2 separate regions of the Homo sapiens genome follow, and region 2 is linked to region 1. The links are contacts of gene promoters, found by promoter capture Hi-C in human tissues and cell types (Jung and others, 2019). All regions are on one chromosome and are shown on one strand. The core of a region is centred on a gene start or on the middle of the fragment in contact, and the rest is flanking DNA. Distances in the headings are between cores, read along the strand shown. Region 1 holds the start of NUP210L (nucleoporin 210 like). Region 2 overlaps NUP210L (nucleoporin 210 like).

The links. The method cuts DNA at HindIII sites, captures the fragments that hold promoters and counts their contacts. A contact is called where the count stands out against the background at its distance.
Region 2: a contact is called between a fragment that was not itself captured here and the fragment with the promoter of NUP210L in region 1, in 2 of the 25 tissues and cell types used here (bladder and liver).

The regions. Positions count from the first base shown.
Region 1 is chr1:154,151,944-154,159,000 of GRCh38, forward strand. It overlaps NUP210L (nucleoporin 210 like), which reads right to left and starts at 3,130. Exons shown (of 40, transcript NM_207308.3): 1 at 2,899-3,130; 2 at 793-929. The coding sequence starts at 3,101. It also overlaps a transcript of TPM3 not described here. RefSeq lists enhancers at 2,463-2,963, 2,964-3,464 and a silencer at 4,071-4,248. The HindIII fragment of the contact is 16,458 bases long and covers 1-7,057 here.
Region 2 is chr1:154,042,119-154,049,534 of GRCh38, forward strand. It overlaps NUP210L (nucleoporin 210 like), which reads right to left. Exons shown (of 40, transcript NM_207308.3): 26 at 4,171-4,251; 27 at 3,951-4,082. Among named protein-coding and RNA genes, the nearest start is that of RPS27, 55 kb to the left of the region's middle. The HindIII fragment of the contact is 5,090 bases long and covers 3,551-7,416 here.

The DNA of each region.
Region 1 (7,057 bases), core at 1,880-4,379:
CCAGGTGTGGTGGCAGTGCGCCTGTAATCCCAGCTACTCAAGAGGCTGAGCCAGGAGAATCGCTTGAACCTGGGAGACAGAGGTTACAGTGAGCCAAGATCACGCCACTGCACTCCAGCCTGGGCAACAAAAGCGAAACTCCGTCTCAAAAAAAAAAAAAAAAAGAAAGAAAGAAAGAAAAAATGAAAATCCTGCCTAATACTCTTCATTTTTATTTTATTTTATTTTATTTTATTTTGTTTTATTGAGATGGAGACTCCCTCTGTCGCCCCGCTGGAGTGCAGTGGCACAATCTTGGCTCACTGCAACCTGTGTCTCCCGGGTTCAAGCGATTCTCCTGCCTCAGCCTCCCTGAGTAGCTGGGACTACAGGTGTGCGCCACCACGCCCGGCTAATTTTTTTGTATTTTTAGTAGAGACGAGGTTTTACCATGTTGGCCAGGCTGGTCTCAAATTCCCCACCTCAGGTGATCCACCCACCTCGGCCTCCCAAAGTGGGGGGATTACAGGCGCGAGCCACCGCCCCCAGCCATAATTTTTTTTTTTTTTTTGTAGAGATAGGTCTCACTCTGTTACCCAGACTGTTCTTAAACTCCTGAGCTCAAGCAATCTTTCTGCCTCAGCCTCCCAAAGTGCTGGGATTAAAGGCGTGAGCCACTGCAGCCAGCTAGGAATCATTTATTCTCCCTTTGATCATTTGAAGCCAACACCATTTGTGTTAACTATCTATACAAAATACCAGATTATTCTACCCCAGAAGAAGTGATACATAGTGTTTTTGCTCTCAACATACCTATTTCTCGAGCAAGAATAATACTGCTGAGGCGTATCGGTTGCGTAGATTCAGCAATGAGTACAGCTTTTTGGGAACACAAGGTGCCATTTTCATATAAAGGCTCAACAGTAACTGCATCATGATGGGTGGAATGCCTGCCAGAACAAAATTCTTAAGAGTGTGAAATAGGTGGGTTAAAATTAACTTTTAGTGGAACATAGATTCTCACACTTCTTCCATGTTACATACTACCAGGTATATGTAAATGACACTTTTTAAAGAAGGAACATTGCTTAGGGATGCGATAATTAAACTGAGAGATTGATGAGAACTTTCCCAATGATCCCTTGAACAAAGTCCCAGAAATATCCCTCCCTCAATTTTTTTTAAAAGATTTTTATATTCTTCCCTCAGTATGCAGAAATACGACTGATGTGTTTCTAGTAATGAGAGGGGACTTTCTCATACTCTGAGGAAAGTTTCCTTCAATCCTAGAAACCAGGCTTCTGATATCTAGGATGGAAAAGGTGCCTAAATTATGAGGTGTGAGTCCAACTCAAAATACCAAAAACATTCATAAATATTTTTATTCTTATTTATTATTATGTTTTTGAGACCGAGTCACTTTGTTGCCCAAGCTGAAGTGCAGCAGGGCGATCTCAGCTCACTGCAACATTCGCCTCCAGGGTTCAAGCGATTCTCCTGCCTCAGCCTCTCGAGTAGCTGAGATTACAGGTGTCTGCCACTATGCCCGACTAATTTTTGTATTTTTAGTAGGGATGGGCTTTCATCATGTTGGCCAGGCTGGTCTTGAACTCCTGACTTCAAGTGATCTGCCTGCCCCGGCCTCCCAAAGTGCTGGGATTACAGGCGTGAGCCACTGCGCCCGGCCGAATGTTTTTATTTTAAATAGAGACGGGGTCTCACTATGTTGATCCGGCTGGTCTCAAACTCCTGGCCTCAAGTAATCCTCCTGCCTTGGCCTCCCAAAGTGCTGGGATTACAGGCGTGAGCCACCATGCCTGGCCTCATTAATATTTTTGGAGTGATAGAAGAAATGGCTTTCAATGCTGGAAAGATGCCTTGCATCACCCTCACGGTCAGGAAACACACACGTCACACTGGATCATCTTACAAGCTCACTTTCCTTATACTTCCTCATAAAATGAGAGGTGAATTTATACTCGGAACAAACCTCATTGCTTCTCCTAGGAGATGGCAAAGGGGTATCTACTCCATCTAGGATGAATGCACTGGCATCCTGAAGCTCACTTCGGTTAGGTTCTCTCATACCTTAGGCAACCACATAACCCATCATTGGGTCCTCTCACACCAGAAAATCATGTCTCTTCATCTTCAGTCAGGAAGTCATTATCCCGGAGTTGTGTGTACCCCCTGTCCTCACACTTCAAGCGGGTACCCTTTTATAAATGGGGCAATTTTGATAATACAGACAGATCTCATCTCCACCCACGATAAATCTTCTCATATTCCCAGAAGTTTACACTTCATAGTCTCTGGGCCTCACTTTCCTCGTCTGTGAAATGGGAGTAATAGTACTTACTTCATAAGACTGCAAAAAGCGAATGAGTTAACACATGTAAAGTGCTTAGTTAACCCCCAATACTTGGCTGTTGTGTTTTAAGTCCTTCTCACATTGAATAGCTCATCTATAGTTAGTGGGGACCCTCGCACCCCAAGTTTTCCTGTTCCTACAGAAATTTCCTCAGATATGGGGAACTTCCTCTTACTCTAGTTGTTTACATTGGAAGTCATCAGTACCTGTGGCCTCCAACACAGGGCTTCCCTTTACCCTGACGGCTGCTCATAGTGACCACCCCTTCCCAACACACACAGAGAAGAGGCCAGTCCCACATCCCGAGAATTCCTCACACGTCTGGAAGATTGTCACACAGCTGGAGGATATACCACATGAGTAGGACACGCCACACCCAAGGGTCTGCTCCTCGCCACCTTCACTGACACCACACTCTCCTCCCCTACCGGCTAGGCCCCTTCACGCGGCCCCACACGGTATTCCTGTGGGATCTTACAGAGGGAACCCCCCTCACCCTTACTGGATGGTAGTGAGGGTGCATATCCTTGTCACCCACCACCCCTCACCAAGTGTAGCAGCCCCGCTGGGCCTCCAGCAGGAAAGGCACCCGGCCTGGCTCTCGGCCGAAGGGTAGCAACACCTGTGGCACGTTAAGTTTGTTGGCCAGGGTCCCACGCAAAACCAGAAACAACAACAGGAGGCGGTGTAGACGCAAGAAGAAAAAGAGCCCGAAGCCTCGGCGTCTTGATGACGCCGGACAGCCAGTCATGGCGACTGCCAGGTCTCGGGTTCCCGCTCAACTACAGCCGGCTCACAGCTCCATCAGCCAATCCACAGGCGTGACGTCAGCAGAGGGGGATGGGACCTGCTTCTTGCTCGGATGTGTGGGCATTTTTAAATGCAGTCCTTCAGCAAGCCAATATAATGGAAACTTTTGGCACAAACCCAGCTAAAACACCTCAAACTCTCTTAAAGGGCTTTCCTAAATACTGGATGGCAGACCTTTTTAACAGTAAGGAACAAGCAGAAAAGTCTAAAAAAAACCCTTTAATTTCTTCCAGTTTTAATTTCTTCTGTTGCACACTGTTTATCTTAACACCACACCCTCCGCCCGACAAAAAAACTTTTTGCAATGATTTCCAGTTAGCATTGGTCCATGCCTATCAACGGAAAATTGTGCAGTCTCTGGGATAAACAGCTCGACTTTGTCAAGGGAACCGTGTATTTTTACTAGAAGTCAGATTCACGTCCGGCCTCCAGGCCAGAATGCAGGAAATGCCAGACACTGGCGTCTCAAAAGCAGCTTTCAAAGTTATCCACTCACACAGCCGGCCTCTAAGCAAATACTCTTGAGAGCACTTGTTGTTTTCTCCAAATATCCAAACAGAATATAAACTCAAAGCTGTTTCAGTACAGTTGGTTAAAACCACGCATTTATAGTAGTGATCAGCATTATATATTGTTTTAAGGAGCATAAATCCATAGTTTATAAGGATTGATATGGTTGTGAAGGAAAATGTATATAGTTCAGCCTGAGATGTCAGTGTTAACCTATAAAAGGCCCAGCACATTAAGTGTTCTTTCTAATCTTCATGTTTACTCTGACAATACTTATCTCCATTTTACAGATGATAAAACTAAACATTTGCTCTATATTAAATCCTGTTGCTCCAGCTGGGTGCGGTGGCTCACGCCCGTAATCCCAGCATTTTGGGAAGCTGAGGCAGGTGGATCACCTGAAGGTCAGGAGTTCGAGACCAGCCTGGCCAACATGGTGAAGCCCTGTCTCTACTTAAAATATAAAAAATTACCCGGGCATGGTGGCAGGTGCCTGTAATCCCAGCTACTCGGGAGGCTGAGGCAGGAGAATCTCTTGAACCAGGAGGCGGAGGTTGCAGTGAGCCGAGATCGAGCCATTACGCTCCAGCCCAGGCAACAAGAATGAAACTTCATCTCAAAAATAATAATAATAAAGAATAAATCCTGTTGCTACCACCCACAAAGATGCTATTTTTAACCCAAACCTCATAGCTTCTGTGGAGAAAGCACATTTAGTTTTAATAAATAAAAGTCAAATAGGTCTGAGGGTTGGAGGGACTGGTTCTTTATTTCAAAAAGACACTTGTCAATATTCAGTATCAAAACAGTTGCACTATTGATTTCTCTTTCTCCCAATCGGCCCCAAAGAGACCACATAAAAGGAGAGTACATTTTAAGCCAATAAGCTGCAGGATGTACACCTAACAGACCTCCTAGAAACCTTACCAGAAAATGGGGACTGGGTAGGGAAGGAAACTTAAAAGATCAACAAACTGCCAGCCCACGGACTGCAGAGGCTGTCACAGCCAGATGGGGTGGCCAGGGTGCCACAAACCCAAAGCAAAGTTTCAAAATAATATAAAATTTAAAAAGTTTTGTACATAAGCTATTCAAGATTTCTCCAGCACTGACTGATACAAAGCACAATTGAGATGGCACTTCTAGAGACAGCAGCTTCAAACCCAGAAAAGGGTAATGAGATGAGTTTCACATGGCTAAATCAGTGGCAAAAACACAGTCTTCTTTCTTTCTTTCTTTCAAGGAGGCAGGAAAGCAATTAAGTGGTCACCTCAACATAAGGGGGACATGATCCATTCTGTAAGCAGTTGTGAGGGGGTAGAGATGGGACAAAATTTTGGTCTCAGAGGTCTTACCATCTTAATTTGGTAACTTCTAATGAAAAAAATAAAAAATAGAAATAACATTATCCAAAGATATCTTAAAGCTGAAAACTTGAACAGCACATTTTTTGTTTTTGTTGTTGTTTGGCTAACTCCTCCTGGAATCACCTTTCTGGTTTAGCTAGTACTTTGTACAGAACAATGAGGTTTCCCACAGCGGAGTCTCCCTGGGCTCTGTTTGGCTCTCGGTAAGGCAGGCCTACACCTTTTCCTCTCCTCTATGGAGAGGGGAATATGCATTAAGGTGAAAAGTCACCTTCCAAAAGTGAGAAAGGGATTCGATTGCTGCTTCAGGACTGTGGAATTATTTGGAATGTTTTACAAATGGTTGCTACAAAACAACAAAAAAGGTAATTACAAAATGTGTACATCACAACATGCTTTTTAAAGACATTATGCATTGTGCTCACATTCCCTTAAATGTTGTTTCCAAAGGTGCTCAGCCTCTAGCCCAGCTGGATTCTCCGGGAAGAGGCAGAGACAGTTTGGCGAAAAAGACACAGGGAAGGAGGGGGTGGTGAAAGGAGAAAGCAGCCTTCCAGTTAAAGATCAGCCCTCAGTTAAAGGTCAGCTTCCCGCAGGCTGGCCTCAGGCGGAGTCTGGGTCAGAGGGAGGAGCAGCAGCAGGGTGGGACTGGGGCGTTCTACATCTCATTCAGGTCAAGCAGGGTCTGGTCCAGCATCCTTTGTGTACAGAGGTGCTCCTCTTTGGTGCATTTCAGTTTATCTAATGGGGGTAAAGGAGAGAAGTTACAAGAACTAGAAGTAAATTTCAAGGTCTACCCGCTCTTTGAGACTTGCTCCTGTTGCAGAGAAGCTGCAGACTGATAAAGCAGCTGCCTTCTCAGCCACAGAAGTGAGCTATTACATCACCCAGTTTTGTAGGGCCTTTGGCTTGCCTACTGAAGTTGTAGGTGTTGCTGCACTTCCTGGGTGAGGGAGTTAGGGCCCTTATCAGCCATTTCCTCTCCCTCCCACACCCAACCAACACTTTCAGCTTTCAGTCAATGAAAGAGCAAGCCTTAACCATCAGCCATCCACTTTTCTAGGTTTTGCCCACATAACAATACCCTCTTGAAATGGCTCACCGGAGTTTGAACATTGCAAACAATAGAAACATCAGAATCTCAGATTATAAAGAGCACAGGAAGATCCTCATGCACTACATGTTTTTTCGAAAAAGTAGAGGCCAAAGTAATAACTGATGGGATAAATAAAAGGGCGCTCACAGTTAAGTCAAATAATCTCTAAAGAAAACAAAGCCAAGAATACTACTGAAACAAGTAGTTGTAAGCAAACCTTGAGATTGCTGCAGAGCTATTGAACAGAACTAGCTTGTGACAGTTACTTGAAATTAACATAAAACCAGAAAAAGGACGCAAAAGTCAGAAAGAAAATCAGCAGCTGAACATTAAGGAGAATCTAATCTGTCTAGCAAGCAAACCACTCTGACTGCTCTAAAGAGGTGAGGAAAATACTCAAATCTTCAACTCAGAGAAGGTGATGGCAACACAGACCCATATTCATATCCCACAACTTTTCTTTCACTTCCCTTTTTTCCACCCAGTCAGAAGGACCCATTCCTGGGCCTGCCGATGAAGCAGTTACAACAACTTGTCAAGTCAGTCCTTTTATTGTTAAAAACATCCATGCAAGGGAACATATCCTACAGTCAGTGCCCAAGTGAAAGAGCAGCAAATAAGGGTGGAAAACAAAATTCTCGCAAGTTTTCTCACTATAATCTCTCAGGCCCCTCCCTTCTTCACCCATAATCTCTTCTAAAGGGACAGAAACTTCACAATGGTCAACTTCACAATGCTGTTAGGAAATCAACATTCTAACTGCCCCAATTAAAATGCAATTTGCTCAGGGCAAAATAATAACTTTTAAAAAGACAATCAGCTTTTTGTTGGGGTCCAGGTCAGTGGTGTGAGCAGTAAGCTCAGTTTAATGGGCATCATTGAGCCCTGCCCATCAGTCACACAGATCATGCAGCGTTAGCTTCA
Region 2 (7,416 bases), core at 4,846-7,345, 110 kb before region 1:
AGACAGGGTCTCACTCTGTTACCCAGGCTGGAGTGGAGTGGTGCGATCACAGCTCACTGCAGCCTTCACCTCCCGGGCTCAGGTGATTCTCCCACCTCAACCTCCCTAGAAGCTGGGACTACAGGTGCATGCCACTATGCCTGGCTAATCTCATGTGTGTTTTTTGTAGAGACAGGGTTTCACTCTGTTGCCCAGGCTGGTCTTGAACTCCTGAGCTCATGCGATCCACTCACCTTGGCCTCCCAAAGTGCTGGGATTATAGCTGTGAGCCGCCGCACCCAGCCCATGAAGGCCTTTTTGTTGTTGTTGTTGTTGTTGTTGTTGTTGAGACGGAGTCTTGCTCTGTCGCCCAGGCTGGAGTGCAGTGGCGCAATCTCGCCTCCCTGCAAGCTCCGCCTCCTGGGTTCATGCCATTATCCTGCCTCAGCCTCCTCAGTAGCTGGGATTACAGGTGCCCGCCACCATGCCCGGCCAATGTTTTTGTATTTTTTAGTAGAGACGGGGTTTCACCATGTTAGCCAGGATGGTCTTGATCTCCTGACCTCCTGATCCACCTGCCTCGGCCTCCCAAAGTGCTGGGATTACAGGCGTGAGCCACCGCGCCTGGCCTTTTTTTTCTTGAGACAAGGTCTCACTCTGTTGCCCAGGCTGGAGTCCAGTGGTGCAATCTCGGCTCACTGCCTCTTGGGTTCAAGGAATCCTCTTGCCTCAGCCTCCTGAGTAGCTGGGATTACAGGTGCATGCCACTATGCCCAGCTAATTTTTGTATTTTTGGTAGAGACGGGGTTTCGCCATGTTGCTCAGGCTGGTCTTGAACTCCTGGGCTCAAGTGACGCACCCACCTTGGCCTCCCAAATTGCTGGAATTACAGCTGTGAGCCACCACACCCAGCCCATTAAGACCTTTTTTTTTTTTTTTTGAGACAGGGTCTTGCTCTGTTCCCCAGGCAGGAGTCAAGTGGTGCAATCTCAGTTCACTGCAACTTCTGCCTCCCGGGTTCAAGGAATCCTCCTGCCTCAGCCTCCTGAGTAGCTGGGATTACAGGTGTGCGCCACTATGCCCAGCTAATTTTTGTATTTTTGGTAGAGACGGGGTTTTGCCATGTTGCTCAGGCTGGTCTTGAACTCCTGGGCTCAAGTGATCCACGCGCCTCGGCCTCCCAAAGTGCTGGGATTACAGGCGTGAGCCACTGCACTCCGCCTTTTTTTTTTTTGAGATGGAGTTTCACTCTTGTTGCCCAGGCTGGAGTGCAATGGCGTAATCTCAGTTCACCACAACCTCCACCTCCCGGGTTCAAGCGATTCTCCTGCCTCAGCCACCCGCGTAGCTGGGATTACAGGCATGCGCCACCACACCCGGCTAATTTTGTATTTTTAGTAGAGATGGGGTTTCTTCATGTTGGTCAGGCTGGTCTCGAACTCCCAAACTCCCGACCTCAGGTGATCCACCTGCCTTGGCCTCCCAAAGTGAGCCACTGTGTAATTACAGGCGTGAACCACTGCACCCGGCCTTTTTTTTTTTTTTTTGAGATAGAATCTCACTTTGTCGCCCAGGCTGGAGTGCAGTGGCGTGATCTCTGCTCACTGCAACCTGCACCTCCTGAGTTCAAGCCATTCTTCTGCTTCCGCCTCTCAAGTAGCTGGGATTACAGGTTTGTGCCACCACACCCAGCTAAATTTTGTATTTTTAGTAGAGACGGGGTTACACCATGTTGGCCAGGCTGGTCTCAAACTCCTGATCCCAAGTCTGCCTCGGCCTCCCAAAGTGCTGGGATTACAGGCCTTATGAAGGCCTTTCTATTGCCCATTTCATTACCCAATTTGCCTATGCTAGATCTGAGGCAGGAAAAGAAAAAATCTGTGTGGCTCTCAATTATTTCTTCTGCTAGAGAAAAGAGTGATGCTTTACATAAAAAAAATTAAAGAAAGGGAGAAGTAGAATAGAGGCCAAGGCCTAGCCATTCCCTCCTTTCACACACTCCTGTCTGTTATTCAAGAAAAAAGCCCGCTGGGCATGGTGGCTCATGCCTGTAATCTCAGCACTTTGGGAGGCCGAGGTGGGTGGATCACTTGAGGTCAGGAGTTTGAGACCAGCCTTGCCAACATGGTGAAACCCCGTCTCTACTAAAAATACAAAAAATTAGCCGGGCCTGGTGGCAGGCACCTGTAATCCCAGCTACTCAGTAGGCTGAGGCACAAGAATCGCTTGAACCCAGGAGGCGGAGGTTGCAGTGAGCCGAGATCGTACCATTGCACTCCAGCCTGGGCAAAAAGAGGGAAACTCTGTCTCAAAAAAAAAAAAAGAAAAAGAAAAAGAAAAAAGCCAAATCCTTACATTAAATTGCATCAAACTAAGTACAGTTCCATTCTTCCACAATTCCAGTATAACTAGACTCTAGGAAGTCACAGACAGAAGATCTAACCACTAGAGTTTCCTTAAATTATAGGTTAAGGATATTTTTAGAAAGATTACAAATTTTTTTTTACTTTTTCCAAAGTTCTCTTTTCTTTTTAGCTGGCTGCCGAAATATCCTCGTAATTCTAGCTCCTGTAACCCCTCTATTATCTCCCAAGATATAACTCTAATTCTTTGTTCTCGTGAGCACTGAATTGTGACCTACTGGGTATCATGGCCCCATGTCCTTTTTCCTAAGGTAAAACCCAGATGTAGCTGGTTGCCACTGTACTCAGACCACCTTGGGTGAGTTTCATTTAGGTAAAATTTGTCGGCAGCAAACTTTACATAGTTTCTGCCAAACTTGCTTTTTTTTTGTCTTTTTCAGGTTTCAGTGTGAGGTTTAATACTATATGCATCAAAACATCAAAGCTTTTTTTCAGAGAAATATACTCTCAAGTTGAACTGTGGATATCCTAGATGTCTATCCTGAGGTCTTCTATGGTTCCAGATACAGCAGGTAGTGAATTGGGAGGAGCCAATACCACCAGATACCAAAGGGAACCATGGAGGGGCAGTTTAATTAATCACTGTTCTTAAACTTGTCGTTGATATAAGACACCCAGTCCAGAATCAGCTGCCCAGTTGATAGGCGACTACAGCTCCGTGGTACCCATGGTGCCTGACATGGGAATCCAGTTCTTCCCCAATTCCAAGTAGGGTGGGCTGGGAGCATGCTAAACAAAGCAATGCCACCTACAGCCCTCTATATTTGCTTTTCTTACTATTAATGTAATCACCCAGCATGTAGCACAACCATGATTATGAATATAATCAAATGTGTGTCTGAACATGATAAAAAATAAAAATTGTATATTTATTTTTTATACTTTATGCATATACTTTATATTCATAGTGTTACTCATCTAACATAGTCATCTGCTCACAAATACAACATTACAACAACATTAATAAATACAATATTAAAAGAAAGATCACTTTTGAGAGCTCTTTCCAGCAAAAAATAAAAATAAATAATCATACAGTATTATCTGCATACTCAAATTTGGATTCTTTATTGCTTTGCAGGTTTCCAGAGTTCAGAGTTCAGAGAACAGTAGGAAAAGTAAATAAGTAATAATATTGTGTAGTTTAGGGAGTGAGTAATCAGTCTAAAACTTATGATAGGATGAGCATGGTGGCTCACGCCTGTAATCCCAGCACTTCGGGAGGTCACAGTGGGTGGATCACCTAAGCTCAGGAGCTCAAGAACAGCCTGGGCAACAAGGCAAAAACCCCATCTCAACAAAAAAGTACAAAAAATTAGCCAGGCATGATGGCATGTGCCTGTGGTCCCAGCTACTCGGGAGGCTGAGGTGGGAGGATCACTTTAGCCTAGGAGGTGGAGGTTGCAGTGAGCTGAGATTGCACCACTGCACTCCAGCCTGGGGGACAGAGTGAGACCTCATCTCAAAACAAAAAGAAACTTATGATAAATTAAAATAAATTTAATATCAAGATCCCTAAGATAACACAATAAACAGGCAAATTCTTACCTCTGAATGCCTGGGCACTAGATCCAATACATCCCTTTTGCTCATAGACCAGTGGAATGTGAGCCCAGGATTAGCATTGCTGAAGGAGAAAGGGGTCTGGGTACTGGTTACTCCCATGACATAAACTGGCATCTGAAAATAAATAGCAGCATTGTGCTATATATTCTGCCCAGTTGCAATTATCAGAATAATGAGCCCTGAACAGAGCCATCATACTGACCTTGGTAGCTGTGATGAGCCGAGTTGCAGCTGCAAGGATCCTAACAGCCCTTAGCTGAACAACTTCAATCTGTACTTCATCCTGCTCAACAGGGTGGAGAGCAAGCTTAGGCTAAGAGGGAGTTTCTGTGGGGTGGACAGAGATGCTTTTGATAACTAGTTTGCTATTGTTTTTAACATTCAGTAAAAAACCTTGCCCATGCTTATTGCAGCACTATTCACAATAGCCAATATTTGGAGCCAACCTAAGTGTCCATCAACAAACAAATGGATAAAGAAAATGTGGTACATATGTACAACAGAGTACTATTCAGCCATAAAAAGAATGAGATCCTGTCATTTGCAACAACATGGATGGAACTAGAGATCATTATGTCAAGTGAAATAAGCCAGGCATAGAAAGACAAAGATAAACTTCCCATGTTCTCACTTATATATTTATGGGAGCTAAAAATTAAAACAGTTGAACTCATGGAGATAAAGAATAGAATGATGGGCTGTGCACGGTGGCTCACGCCTGTAATCCCAGCACTTTGGGAGGCCGGGTGGATCACTTGAGGTTAGGAGTTCAAGACCAGCCTGACCAACATGGTGAAACCCATTTCTACTGAAAATACAAAATTAGCTGGGTGTGGTGGCATGTGCCTGTAGTCTTAGCTACTTGGGAGGCTGAGGCAGGAGAGTCGTTTGAATCCGGGAGGCGGAGGTTGCAGTGAGCCGAGATCATGCCATCGCACTCCAGCCTGGGCAACAAGAGCGAAACTCCGACTCAAAACAAACAAAAAAGTAGAACAATGGTTACCAGAGGCTGGGAAGGGCAGTGGGTGGGTAGGGGGGCTATGGGGATGATTAATGGGCAGAAAAATATAGTTAGAATGAAAAAGGGCTAGTATTTGATAGCACAGCAGGGTGACTACAGTCAACAATAAGTTATTGTTTATTTAAAAATAACTAAAAGAGTATAATTGGATTGTCTGTAACACAGAAAGGATAAATGCTTGAGGTGGTGGATACCCCATTTACCCTGATGTAGTTAATATGCATTGTATGCCTATATCAAAATAACTCATATACTGTTGGGAACAGGCCCCCAAATCTGGCCATAAACTGGCCCCAAAAATGGCCATAAACAAAATCTCTGCAGCACTGTGACATGTTCGTTATGGCCATGATGCCCACGCTGAAGGTTGTGGGTTTACCAGAATGAGGACAAGGAACACCTGGCCCACTCAGGGTGGAAAACTGCCTAAGGCGTTCCTAAGCCACAAACAATAGCATGAGCAATCTGTGCCTTAAGGACATGTTCCTGCTGCAGATAACTAGCCAAAGCCCATCCCTTTGTTTCATGTAAGGAATGCTTTTAGTTAATCTATAATCTATAGAACCAATGCTTATCACTGGCTTGCTGTCAATAAATATGTGGGTAAATCTCTGTTCATGGCTCTCAGCTCTGAAGGCTGTGAGCCCCCTGATTTCCCACTCCACACTCTATATTTCTGTGTGTGTGTCTTTAATTCCTCTAGTGCCACTGGGTTAGGGTCTCCACGACTGAGCTGATCTCGGTAAGTGGTGCCCATACGTGGGGCTCCAACCTGGGTCAAAGGGTCATTGGAGCGACGGTTGGAGAATGTGGAACTAAGCTGGAGGACACCTGAGTACTCTTAAGCAATCCCTGTGGTGAGTAAGAAGGGGAGCTTGGAAGCATCAGGGTAACAATGGAACAAGTGTGGGCTCTAGTTTGTTCCACCTTGGAACATTTTCACACTGATGATGTGGAGGAAGGAAAGTATATCGAAATAACAGAAGAGGTGAAAGAGCAGGTTTGTTTGCCAGCTAAAGCTAAAGTGGCAAAGAGGAAGAGGTTCATCCCTACCCTTCTGCACCCCCTCCTTATTTTGAAGAAAAAGAGTGGCCTGACCCTCCAGATCTTTCTTTTCCAGAGGACACTGGGCAAAAAGTAGTTGCCCCAGTGACTGTTCAAGTAGCGCCTCAAGCAACCGCTCTCAGTTCTATTCAGGCAGGAATCCAGCAAGCTAGAAGAGAGGGTGATATAGAGGCTTGGCAGTTCCCTGTTAGGATACACCCCCCAGATCAACAAGGAAATATTATAGCTATGTTTGAGCTTTTTCCTTTTAAAATACTTAAAGAGTTTAAACAGGCCATTAATCAGTATGAGCCAGGTGTATGCCCGAAGTGTAAAAAAGGAAAACATTGGACTAATCAGTGTCACTCTAAGTTTGATAAAGATGGGAAACCGATTTTGGGAAATGCCATGAGGGGCCTATCCTGGGCCCTGTTCCAAACCAGGGCATTTCTGGCTCAGGCCACTCCCTCACCCCTGTACAATGTCTGTCCCCCACCACAGCTGGTAATGCCGCAGTAGATTTATGCTGCACAAAAGCTGTGAGTCTTCTGCCTGGGGAGCCCCAGCAAAAAGTACCTACGGGAGTCTGTGGACCCTTGCCAGCGGGGATGATAGGATTACTTCTAGGTAGATCTAGTTTAAATTTAAAAGGAGTGCAAGTACATACAGGAGTCCTTGATTCATATTACAGTGGGGAAATTCAAATTGTTATATCTACTTCTGTTCCCTGGAAAGCAGAGCCAGGAGAGCGTATAGCACGGCTCCTGATTGTGCTGTATGTGGAAATGGGGAAAAGTGAAAAACAAGAGGATTTGGGAGCACAAATAAACAAAGCAAAGCAGCTTACTGGGTGAATCAAACTACTGATAAACATCCTCCCTGTGAAATAACTATTCAGGGAAAGAAATTTAAAGGTTTGGTAGATACAGGAGTGGACATTTCAATCATTTCTCTACAGCACTGGCCATCTGTGTGGCCAATTCAACCCGCTCAATTTAACATAGTTGGAGTTGGTAAAGCCCCTGAAGTATATCAAAGTAGTTATATTTTGCATTGTGAAGGGCCCAATGGACAACCTGGGACTATTCAACCAATTATAACTTCTGTACCCTTAAATTTATGGAGAAGAGATTTATTACAACAATGGGGAGCACAAGTTCTAATTCCAGAGCAATTATATACCCCTCAAAGTCAACATATGATGCATGAAATAGGGTACGTCCCTAGTATGGGACTAGAAAAATACTTGCAGGGTTTGAAGGAACCGCTTCAAACAGAAAGAAAAGTTCCTGCCAAGGGTTTAGGATATCATTTTTGATGGCAGCCATTGTTAAGCCTCCAGAATCTATAGCTTTAAAATGGTTAACAGACAAGCCAATTTGG